4 separate regions of the Homo sapiens genome follow, and all the other regions are linked to region 4. The links are contacts of gene promoters, found by promoter capture Hi-C in blood cells and fetal thymus (Javierre and others, 2016). All regions are on one chromosome and are shown on one strand. Each heading gives the region's core, a stretch centred on a gene start or on the middle of the fragment in contact. The rest is flanking DNA. Distances are from core to core; before and after follow the strand shown.

Evidence for each region. Contacts are between HindIII fragments. The CHiCAGO score rates a contact against its expected background, and 5 or more counts as called.
Region 1: a fragment that was not itself captured here is called in contact with the fragment with the promoter of TXLNG in region 4 in 1 of 17 cell types (naive CD8 T cells); the score reaches 6.8 in naive CD8 T cells.
Region 2: the fragment with the promoter of SCML1 here is called in contact with the fragment with the promoter of TXLNG in region 4 in 1 of 17 cell types (total B cells); the score reaches 8.1 in total B cells.
Region 3: a fragment that was not itself captured here is called in contact with the fragment with the promoter of TXLNG in region 4 in 2 of 17 cell types (activated CD4 T cells and naive CD8 T cells); the score reaches 7.3 in activated CD4 T cells.

Annotation. Positions count from the first base shown.
Region 1 is chrX:15,860,445-15,863,144 of GRCh38, forward strand. No RefSeq gene overlaps it. Among named protein-coding and RNA genes, the nearest start is that of AP1S2, 7.0 kb to the left of the region's middle. The HindIII fragment of the contact is 408 bases long and covers 1,242-1,649 here.
Region 2 is chrX:17,736,113-17,738,812 of GRCh38, forward strand. SCML1 (Scm polycomb group protein like 1) reads left to right here and starts at 1,381. Exons shown (of 8, transcript NM_001037540.3): 1 at 1,381-1,568. The HindIII fragment of the contact is 866 bases long and covers 911-1,776 here.
Region 3 is chrX:15,840,813-15,843,512 of GRCh38, forward strand. All of the region lies in intron 4 of AP1S2 (adaptor related protein complex 1 subunit sigma 2), which reads right to left. Among named protein-coding and RNA genes, the nearest start is that of AP1S2, 13 kb to the right of the region's middle. The HindIII fragment of the contact is 4,648 bases long and covers 1-2,700 here.
Region 4 is chrX:16,785,161-16,787,860 of GRCh38, forward strand. TXLNG (taxilin gamma) reads left to right here and starts at 1,306. Exons shown (of 10, transcript NM_018360.3): 1 at 1,306-1,429. The coding sequence starts at 1,328. LOC124905250 (a long non-coding RNA gene) reads right to left here and starts at 1,106. Exons shown (of 2, transcript XR_007068398.1): 1 at 910-1,106; 2 at 500-803. RefSeq lists enhancers at 702-901, 873-1,605 and a silencer at 1,652-2,091. The HindIII fragment of the contact is 8,203 bases long and covers 1-2,700 here.

The sequences.
Region 1 (2,700 bases), core at 196-2,695, 920 kb before region 4:
TCCTCTCCAGCACCTGTTGTTTCCTGACTTTTTAATGATCGCCATTCTAACTGGTGTGAGATGGTATCTCATTGTGGTTTTGATTTGCATTTCTCTGATGGCCAGTGATGATGAGCATTTTTTCATGTGTCTGTTGGCTGCATAGATGTCTTCTTTTGAGAAGTGTCTGTTCATATCCTTTGCCCACTTTTTGATGGGGTTGTTTGTTTTTTTCTTGTAAATTTGTTTGAGTTCTTCCTAGATTCTGGATATTAGCCCTTTGTCAGATGAGTAAATTGCAAAAATTTTCTCCCATTCTGTAGGTTGCCTGTTCACTCTGATGGTAGTTTCTTTTGCTATGCAGAAGCTCTTTAGTTTAATTAGATCCCATTTGTCAATTTTGGCTTTTGTTGCCATTGCTTTTGGTGTTTTAGACATGAAGTCCTTGCCCATGCCTATGTCCTGAATGGTATTGCCTAGGTTTTCTTCTAAGGTTTTTATGGGTTTAGGTCTAACATTTAAGTCTTTAGTCCATCTTGAATTAATTTTTGTATAAGGTGTGAGGAAGGGATCCAGTTTCAGCTTTCTACATATGGCTAGCCAGTTTTCCCAGCTATAATATTCTAAGGCAGAAACTGAAGTGCTTAGGGAAACTCGAAGGTTGCATCATAAAAGTCAGATGCTTACTTGATGAAAATCACTACCTTAAAAATATTTCCCAACTACTCATGGCAAGTAGGAGTCACCTCTGAAATACTTTGTCAGCAATTAAAGACATGGGGTAGAAAGGAAGAAGTCCAGAGGGAACAGCTAGACAGAATCAATGTGTCCCAGGGGTAAGGCAGAGACCAGAGACCGCTAAGTAGTAATCAAAACCTGCCCGTTCTCTTCCTTAGCACACAGCTAGACCTCATTCCGCTGCTTCCTCTGTAGTTAGGTGTGCCCATGGAGCTGAGATCTGGCCAATGAAATAGGAATAAAAGTGACAGGTCTAGCCTATAAAAAGCTCCCACAGGAAAGTCTGTTTCCTTCTTCCCTCCTTCCCTCCCCAGACCTGCTTTTGCCACTTGGATGATGACACCCAGGTATCCTGCCAGCCTGAGTTCCTGAATGACTGCAAGGAAGAGACGTACACAAACCACTACCACCATCATCACTCCTATTGTACTTGAAATGAATGAGAAATAACTTTGTATTAAGCCACTGATTTTTTTTCCCAGGTTCATTTGTTACAGCTGCAAGCATTCCTGTTCATTCTTGAAAGCTTGTTGCATACTTAGTTACAAAGAGAAGGAGCCATGCATAGTGATGGGAAGAGCAAGTGAATTTTCAAGTGGATACTTGATTCTAATCCTGCTTTTTGTGCTCTTTTATATGTCTCCCTTCCATTGAAATTTGAGAAGAATTGTTAAACAGTCTGAGCACAGAATTTTAAACTACTTGTCTATCAAAGAGGGCAAAAAGAATGATTTAAGGCTCTTTTTTACATTCCTCTGACAAAGCCTAGCATTAATACTAGGCAATAGAAAAGGCAAAATTTAAAAAATCGTAAGGCTGAAAGGGCTGAGGAAGTGAAGTGGGGTGGTGGGCAAGCACATTTGGGTAAACTGTCCCTAATTGGCAAAAGTGAATACAGTATTATCATCAACCTCTTAGAATCAAAAAACCAAAGCTTGAGATTTATTTTTGACTCTATTATATCCTTGTCTTCTAAATACTATACAAAAAGCTAAGTTAAAATATTTATCCTAAAGCACTATTTAGAATACAGGAACATTTTAATTAGATAATTTGATGAAAAATTTTAGAAATACTGTACACATTTTAAATATAACACATATATAAGATAATAGAATTTTAAAGGTAATTTTATTCAAGAATTTTATTTTACAAGTGAAGAATGAAGTCCAGAGAAGTTAAGCAAATTGTTCAAGATCATACCAGTTAGTGGCAAGTGGAGAAGTAAGACTCCTATGTTCTGTCTCCAGGCAATGTTCTTGCCACCACAGGACACTGTCTATTGCCCAGAAACTACTAGCCCATTATCTTTAGGCAAAAACAAACAAATAAATAAATAAACTGAAAAACCTTACCCTTGAAATGTAAACTCTTCAATTCTACTTCCTTTTGCCTTTCTGTCCAGTATTAAAGTATTTATGTCTTTACTAGCTGACTGAAATCCTTGCAATCTCCAAAACTGGGATAATATCTTAATAACTGCTTTATGGCATAACCTAATGCAATGCTTTGCATAGAGTAAGTACTCTAAAATGTTAATTAAGTTGAATTGTGGTGCCAAAAGAAGGTTTAGGCTGAGGGCAATGGCTCACGCCTATAATCCCAGCACTTTGGGATGCCGAGGCAGGCGGATCACCTGAGGTCAGAAGTTCGAGACCAGCCTGGCCAACATGGTGAAACCCTGTCTCTACTATAAAAACACACACACAAAAAATTAGCTAGGCGTGATGCTGCATGCTTGTAATCTCAGCTACACAGGAGGCTGAGGCAGGGGAATCACTTGAACCCAGGAGTTGGAGGTTGCAGTGAGCCGAGACCGCACCACTGCACTCCAGCCTGTGCAACAAGAATGAAACTCCTTCCCCACCCCCCCCAAAAAAAAGGTTTAATTGGGCCCTGTCTCATTACTTCTTGAGTGTATCAGTTTTTCTGGAGTATTCTCCTTCTTTCCATCCCCATTAATATTGCACTAGGTCAGACTAA
Region 2 (2,700 bases), core at 131-2,630, 950 kb after region 4:
CATAGACCAGCCTGTCCAACATGGTGAAACCCGTCTCTACTAAAAATACAAAAATTAGCTGGGCATGGTGGCAGACGCCTGTAATCCCAGCTACTCTGGAGGCTGAGGCAGGAGAATCGCTTGAACCCAGGAGGCAGAGGTTGCAGTGAGCCGAGATCACACCGCTACACTCCAGCCTGGGCAACAAGAGCAAAACTCCGTCTCAAACAAAAACAAAAACAAAAAAAAAACATATACTATATCTATAATGGGCTTTAATCTAGCTTCGTATTTGAGAGGAAAAATGATACATTTCCAACGTCCAGTATACTTTCTTTGTAGCTCCTCTCTGGGCCAAGAAAAGATGTATAGCTTTACTTTGAAATATCTGCCTGCTTTGCTTCTGATAATTACTCAGACTGTGTCTCCTTCCCAAGATGAGCAGCCTCGATATAAGTATGTAAGACTATATGCCACTAGATGATGTCACATAGCCTTTATTACAATAGCAAAATTCTATGCCAGGTACTGTTCTAAGTGCTTTGCATACATTAACTCATGTAGTCCCCATATTATACCCATTTTACAGATGGGGAAACCGAAGCACAAAGCGGTTACTTGGCTTGCCTAAGGCCATAGGAGGACTGTGTTGGAGCTGGGGGTCCAATCCAGTAAATCTGCCTTCAAGGTCTGCGTTAGTTCCCCAGTCCAACTTGTGGGTGCTGGAGACTGGAAATATCTTGCCCGCCCCCCACCCTGGCCCCCCTCGCCCTTCCTACCAGACCTGGCTCAGGGCAACTGCTAAGGCCCCGCCCCTCTCCTCATTCCAAGTCAATCACTGGCGTGCGTCCAGGAAACCCAGTTTACGACGACGTCTCTGGTGCGTCACAGAGCGCGGGGGAGGGGCGGGATCACATTAAAAAAAAAAAAAAGCTTCGGACACCCCAACAACGAAGGGGGGACACCACGTCCCTAACTACAACGCCACTAGAAGGGTTGCGCATGCGCGCCAGCCTCCTGCGCAGCCGCAGAAACCACTCAGCGCGCGAGTCTCTGAAAGGCCTAACGTCCATTTTCAATCCTGCGGGTCTTGCGAAGGAAAACCTGAGGTAAGAGGCCCCGCCCCACAGCCATCTCCTCAGCAAATTCCCGCCCTCGGCCCCGCCCCACAGCTATCTCCTCAGCAAATTCCCGCCCTCGGCCCCGCCCCACAGCCATCTCCTTAGCAAATTCCCGCCCTCACCCAAGGACTGGGAGAGCACCCGCGGATTGGCCGATCAACGGTGACGCCTGTCAGTGGCCAGACTCCGATTGGTCAGCGGGTAGTCCCGCCCCCCCCCCCCCCCCCCCCCCCCCCAACCGCGAGTGTGGGAATTCGGCGTCGCGGGAGCTCTCTGATCCACTCAGGGGTCAGGGCATCACTGGTCTCGCGTGCGCGTGACCAGGCCCGGTTTCCGGTGCCAGGACCTTTCCGAAGCGTCGAGTGGCCTAACGGTCACAGCTGTCGCCCATCGGAGAGGCAGGACTACTGCGAGCAGTTTTACCGCGACCTCCGGAGGCCGGCGTGACAGGCTCTGTCACTAAAATAGGTCTGTCCAGTCGTACTTTTTCCTCACCTTGAACTTTCCGTCACGGGAATACACGATTTGGCTTAGGGGCCGGGGCTCTCCTGAGGAGAGAGGGTTTGCTTTGCGGGGAAGAGCGAGTCTTGACTTCGCAGCCTCCAATTTCAGCCGCGGTGTGGAGGGGGGTGCTTTGGGTGGTCCCCACAGCCTTTCCGGAGTGCCCGCGCGTGTAAGCTTTTGAGATTTGACAATTTGTGAAGTGCTTGGTGCTGACTTTCGGGGACGACAGGATCCTTTTACAGTCATTCTCCTGTCAGGGGAGGCAGGTGGGGAGCGAGGAAGGATCCAGATTTCGTTAACAGAGCTTTGAGTTTAAAGAATTGACAAACTCCCGAGTTGATTTCCTGTCAGACCTTTTGCGGTTGAGACATAGAGTCTGAGGCTTTGATGGTAACCGCGTTTGATTTAGAGACAGACTGTGCAGCTTCGCTGTTTTATTGTAAATACGTAAATGAGGAGGAAGAGAAAAACGTAGGGTGTTGGGAGCAGAGGCGGGAGGCGGGAGATCCTGCGAAATCGGAGTCCCTTTGGAGTGGGGGAGGCCGTCGAGGCGTGCGAGGGCCCGGCCCCCTTGCCGCGTGGTCGTTAACAGGAAAGGCCCTGATTTGGTTGGTGGCGGATCGCGTCCCTCCCTCCTCTCCCCGGCTCTCCCCGAGTGCGGCAAACTGGCTTCAGGTTGACTAAAAGATAGCGATTTTCCAAGCAGCTTTGCCGCGCGGTGTTTTCTAAAGCGGGGCGTGGGCTGGGTGCCCTTTTGGGCCTCACTTGTCCGGCCTGCGGCAAGTGCTGGGCGATGGGATGCGGTTCTGGCGGCAAAGGAAGGGCTGCCTTTGAGAGTCCCGCAGGAAGGTTTAGAAAGTGATTGTTCTTAAAACAAACAGAGCGTTTTGCTGTGTGTTCCTCAAAGTGGTCCCGGTGGGAGTGGCGCCTCATTGTGAGCTGTGCCTTATCTGATGAATTAATGGCAGGTGAAAGCCTTGCGCCTCCGGAGCGAATATTTACGACTTTTGAAAATGTCTTTAATGTCTAAAAAAAGTCTTTTAGAAAATCAGACGGCCTCTTGTTCTTATGTTATCAAGAGTTTAGATTTCTGTGG
Region 3 (2,700 bases), core at 165-2,664, 940 kb before region 4:
GTACTTTAATAATTTAAGAATCATCTTTAGTACCAGTGGCATGTTAAGACAGCCAAACATTAAAAAATGGATAACGGGCCAATTTCTGGGCTTTACCCCCAAATCTAATTATGTATTCATACAACCAAACACCAAAAGGAATAAACATGAAGTTTGGTCTAGAAATGTCAAAACTAATCCTTTATTTACCAAGTAATGAAGTAAAATAAAAAAGATATCTTTATTATCTAATCACAATATCTGCTAATATTTTAGCAACTATTATTTGAATGTACATTTAATGTTACATTTTTATTACTAACTGTAATATGCTAACAGAAAATCTGTATCCACTGACCCTCTTCCCTATTTGGCTATAAAATGAAGGACTACCTTAAACTATGTGTTTATACAAATTGGGTAAGAGAAATTTTTTTTTAATTTTTCTGAAGAAAATAAGCATTCTTAAGGATAGAAATGTATATTTCACAAATTAAAAAAAAATCAAAATCATTGAGATGTGTATACACCTTTAAGCCAACAGATAAGTACATGATAAGTTCAAAGTCATCTTTGGTGCTTAGAAATAATCAATTCAAGTAAAAGACCTGACACTAAACAGAAAAATAATGACACATGAAAAAGTAGATTAAAATTGACCAATTAGGACTTCTACTACAAATGTAAGTCTGAATTTAGATCTTCACAGCTATATTTACAATTTTGGAAGCAAAATCATTTCATGAAATTGATTAAGTGAATGCTATACCCCAAACTATAAGACCAAAAAAGTTATTATAAATCCAGGCATTTTGATCAATCCAACAAGAAATAGGTTGAAAAATATTATTTATATCTACATATCCAATAAAAAATTCCAACTGCTGATAATCTGGACAATAAAAATTTGCAGTCTAAGAAGTCAAAGATGGCACTGTCTTAGGAAATCTACTCTTTTCCACACAGAAAAACCTCTGGGAGAATTATGAATTTCTCACTATATGACTGAGAAACAAAGAAGTTCATATCTAAAACAGAACGTTTAAAATATATATACCAAGACAATACATAACTGGGGTTAGGGGAAGTGCACAGTGGTTAAGATTTTACACAGCTGTGAAGCCTAGTAGATCTGGGTTTAGAATCCTGGTTTTGCCAGTTGCTAACCAGGTGGCCTCAGACCAGTCATGGAACCTCACTGAGATTCCACTTTCTCATTAGGCTACCTCTAACCTTTCACAGGGTGTCTTGAGGATTAGCACAGGATGCTTAAAGCAAACTGCTGAGCCCAGGGCCTCACATACAAGCACTCAAGCGTTAGTTACCATCATAATTATTTTTGTTGTCATGGTATCCAAAACAAAAAGTTTTCCAGCAGTTTGTGGAGTGCTTTTTCTCTTATTCCACTTGCTATTTTATGAACATAATATTCAAATACTCTCCCACAGATGTAAACTTGTATCATGCATCAAAAATATAAATGAATCTATTTTTAGGAAACATGCATCTTGCCATTCCTGCATTTCTTCTCAGAGTATGTTGATGAAGAGAACAGAATAACCTGAAGCCTTACTGCTCCACACAGACTTGAGCTTGGCTTCATAATGGCCTTAACCTACGATGTATTCTCACTCTAAATTCAGAATGGACCACCACCTACTGCTTCCCCAAGACCTACATGGCTAAGAAAAATGGTTCACTCAGACTGCTAAATAGACAATGTCTCAATGTGGTACTCAGTTTCGTTTGTGTACAAAGCAATGTAAAAGTAGTCATAGAAGAGAAACAGGACCACAGCTTTCTTCTAAAGACAAGGAACTGTAATTAACAGTACTCATTTCTTTATTTTAAACAAAGGTTACAAGGGGGTAAGGAAAATTTTACATGGGACCAACCATACTCATCCTATGCTTTTCTCTTTGCACTTACTTTCCCCAATTAAAGACATAAAAATAGGCTGGATGCGGTGGCTTACGCCTGTAATCCCAGCACTTTGGGAGGCCGAGGTGGGTGGATCACCTGTCAGGAGTTTGAGACCATCCTGGCCAACATGGTGAAAGCCTGTCTTTACTAAAAATACAAAAATTAGCTGGGCATGGTGGTGTGCACCTGTAGTCCCAGCTACTTGGGAGGCTGAGGCAGGAGGATTGCTTGAACACAGGAAGCGGAGGTTGCAGAGAGCCGAAATTGCACCACTGCACTCCAGCCTGGGTGATAAGCGAAACTCCATCTCAAAAAAAAAAAAAAAAAGACATAAAAATAGTACTTCAAACAGAAGGACAATATTAACTATTAAAATACTCCCATAGGGGAATATATATACATATGTACATATACACACACAAATAAATGTGGATCTGCAATAATGTTCTTATCCCCTAGTACATTAAATACTGAATATATGCTCTAAGGTAAACTTAACATTGCTGTCATATTCTAAGGCCCATAGCAATTTCCCAGTAGCATTTAAAAATCCAGGCACAGCTGGGTGCAGTGGCTTACACCTTTAATCCCAGCACTTTGGGAGGCCAAGGGGGACGGATCATTTGAGGTCAGGAGTTCGAGACCAGCCTGACCAACATGGTGAAACCCTGTCTCTACTAAAAGTACAAAACTAGCCAGGCATGGTAGTGCAAGCCTGTAATCCCAGCTACTCGGGAGGCTGAGGCAGGAGAATCGCTTGAGCCCGGGAGGCAGAGGTTGCAGTGAGCCAAGATCGTG
Region 4 (2,700 bases), core at 56-2,555:
GCACGTGCCTGCAATCCCAGCTACTCGGGAGGCTGAGGCAGGAGAATTGCTTGAACCTGGGAGGCGGAGGTTGCAGTGAGCTGAGATCGTGCCACTGCACTCCAGCTTTGGGTGACAGCAAGACTCCGTCTTGGGAAAACAAAAACAAAGAAAAAAGAAAAGCCCACCACCACCACCATGCCCGGCTAATTTTTGTATTTTTAGTAGAGACGGAGTTTCACTGTGTTGGCCAGGCTGGTCTGGAACTCCTGACCTTGTGATCCACCCGCCTCGGTCCCCCAAGGTGTTGGCATTACAGGCGTGAGCCACCGCGCCCGGCCTCATAATGAATTATTTAAGACAATATATCAGGATTTCATGATGGTCTGTGCCTTTCAGAAGCTCGGCCATTGGAGATCTGGTTCCATCAGATGGAAATAGGGAATATTCCTGAGGAAATCTCCCCTCTCCCCCCCAACATCATATCAATAAAAAAAAAAATTCGGTTCAGCAAACCGAGTTTGTTGAAAAAATTTAGGTAATGAAACGAGTAAATGGGGTGGGAGAAAGCAGGATACATTCAACATGAATGAAGTGCCAAGTAAGTGTGCAGAAGCCGGGGCGGTTCAACCAAGGTGAATAGAATGCGGCACCTATCCCGCGGGAGCTCGGGACAAGTAAACCGTGGTAACAACTCTGGTGGAGGGGCAGGGCTCGGGGCAGGTGCCCGAGCACGAAACTTCAAATTCTAAGAGCCAATACACCTTCCGTCTTGAAAGTCGTGAAGTATTTTCCCTTATCCCCAAATCATTCGCGCCCAATTCCTAAGAACGGCAACAAAAACAAAAACACAAGAATGTGTCGCCGATCGTGCTCCTTCTCAAACACGGGGATATTTCTAAACTTTCCGCGAAAGATCATAACGAGTACCTTCCTATAGCCAGACATCGCCCCCAGAAACCGCAAGTCCCACTAGGATGCACACGAAGCACACTGGGTGCAGCACTCTCCCCTTTTCAGAACGCCGCCTTATGTCCCAATCCCGATCCGAGCCTGCGAGCTGTGGCCGCACGCCCTGCTGGGACTTGTAGTCCACTCCCGAGTCCCATTCCCGATCCGCGCAGACTCACACGGCCTCTATCTGCCCTTCGGTCTTGCTGAAGCCCAGCCCAGTATTCAATGCTCCCCATCCCCATCTCGCTCCGTCCCCTCGGGGGCCAACCTCCTCCGGTCACGTGGGAAGTCTCACATGCGGCGATTGGTCGTGGGGGCTCGGGGGCGGGGCGAAAGGCCCTGCGAGATTCTGTGCCCCTTGTCGGGCCGCTTGTTTGGCTGCTGCCGTCACCTCATGGCGACGCGGGTAGAGGAGGCAGCGCGGGGAAGAGGCGGCGGCGCCGAAGAGGCGACTGAGGCCGGACGGGGCGGACGGCGACGCAGCCCGCGGCAGAAGGTCAGTCAGGGGGACGCCCTCGTTGTTGTCGGGCCCGGGGGATGTTTGGGCTCCCTTTTTCAGGGTCCACCTCTTCTCTCTCCCTGGTTACCTATAGCCACGGGACGAACATCCGGTCTTCTTCCCTCCCGGGGGTGACGACAGTGGGAGCAGGTGGGGGGGGGTGGGACCGCGATGGATGGGGTGGGAAGGGACGACGGTTGGGGTTTGGCGGCGCGCGGCGGGGAAGCCGGGAGGGAGGGCAGGGGGCGCACGCGGTTCTAAGGGAGAAGGGGTGCGAGGCGGGGGTGCGCCAGGTGTGACAGCCACGTGCGGCCAGCACCGCGGGGATCCGGGCGCCAGGCGTTCCTTCTCCCAGTCACCGCCGTCACCGTGCTCCCGGCGCTGAGCGCCGCCGTCCGGGGGCTCGCTGGGGTCGTGGGCTCGCCCTCCTGGCGTCGGGCAGGTGCGCAGGGCGCGCTGCGGGGTGCCCCCGGGCTGCTCAGGCTAGGCTGTTGCGCAGTAAGATAACCGCGCGGGAGCCGGGGTGTGCTTGGCCCCCCTTCCCCCGCCCCCCTGCGCTCCCCGCCACTGCGCGGGCGGGCAGGCGAGCGGGTGAGTGTCGCAGGGCCGGTGCGAGCGGGACGCTCGGCCCCCGGGACCTAGACCCCGGGGCTCCGAGGGCTTGGCTGCACGTGGGGCCGGGGATGGATGGGGAGGCGATGCTGGAGGACCTCGGTCCTGCAGAGTTGGGATATCGCATGATAGCTGGTCCTCCCAGTCCTATTTACCACCCTCCTCTTTTTTCCCCTCTTTTTTTTCTTTCATTTATTATTTTTTTAATTTGATGAGTGGAAACTTGAATGCCTTCCCGACCCTGGCCTTGGGTCTTTCTTAATCTGGGAAACAGGCCGGACTGTTCCCCTTGCCTTACTTGACTCACGTCAAGGAGTTTTCAGTCCCTCCCTAGATACAGGAAAATTGAGACCTCTTTCAGAACGGGACAATTCCACTTGTTCTGGAGCTCAGTGGGTGGAGTTTGAAAAAGATTGCACAACGAACGGGGTACAGGGTTTTCGGGGCCCTGGAATGGATAATTGCGGGGACTGAGACTGGGAAGGTGGGAACCCCATCTCTTTTTTTCCTTGCAGGTGAACATACTGAAACGTTCGACTTGTTGGATATCTTGCTTGATCACCGAGGGCTATTTAATATTACTTAATTATGTATTTGAACACTCTTAACTCCTGTATGAAATTACGAAATAATATTTTTCTAATGCAATTCATAAA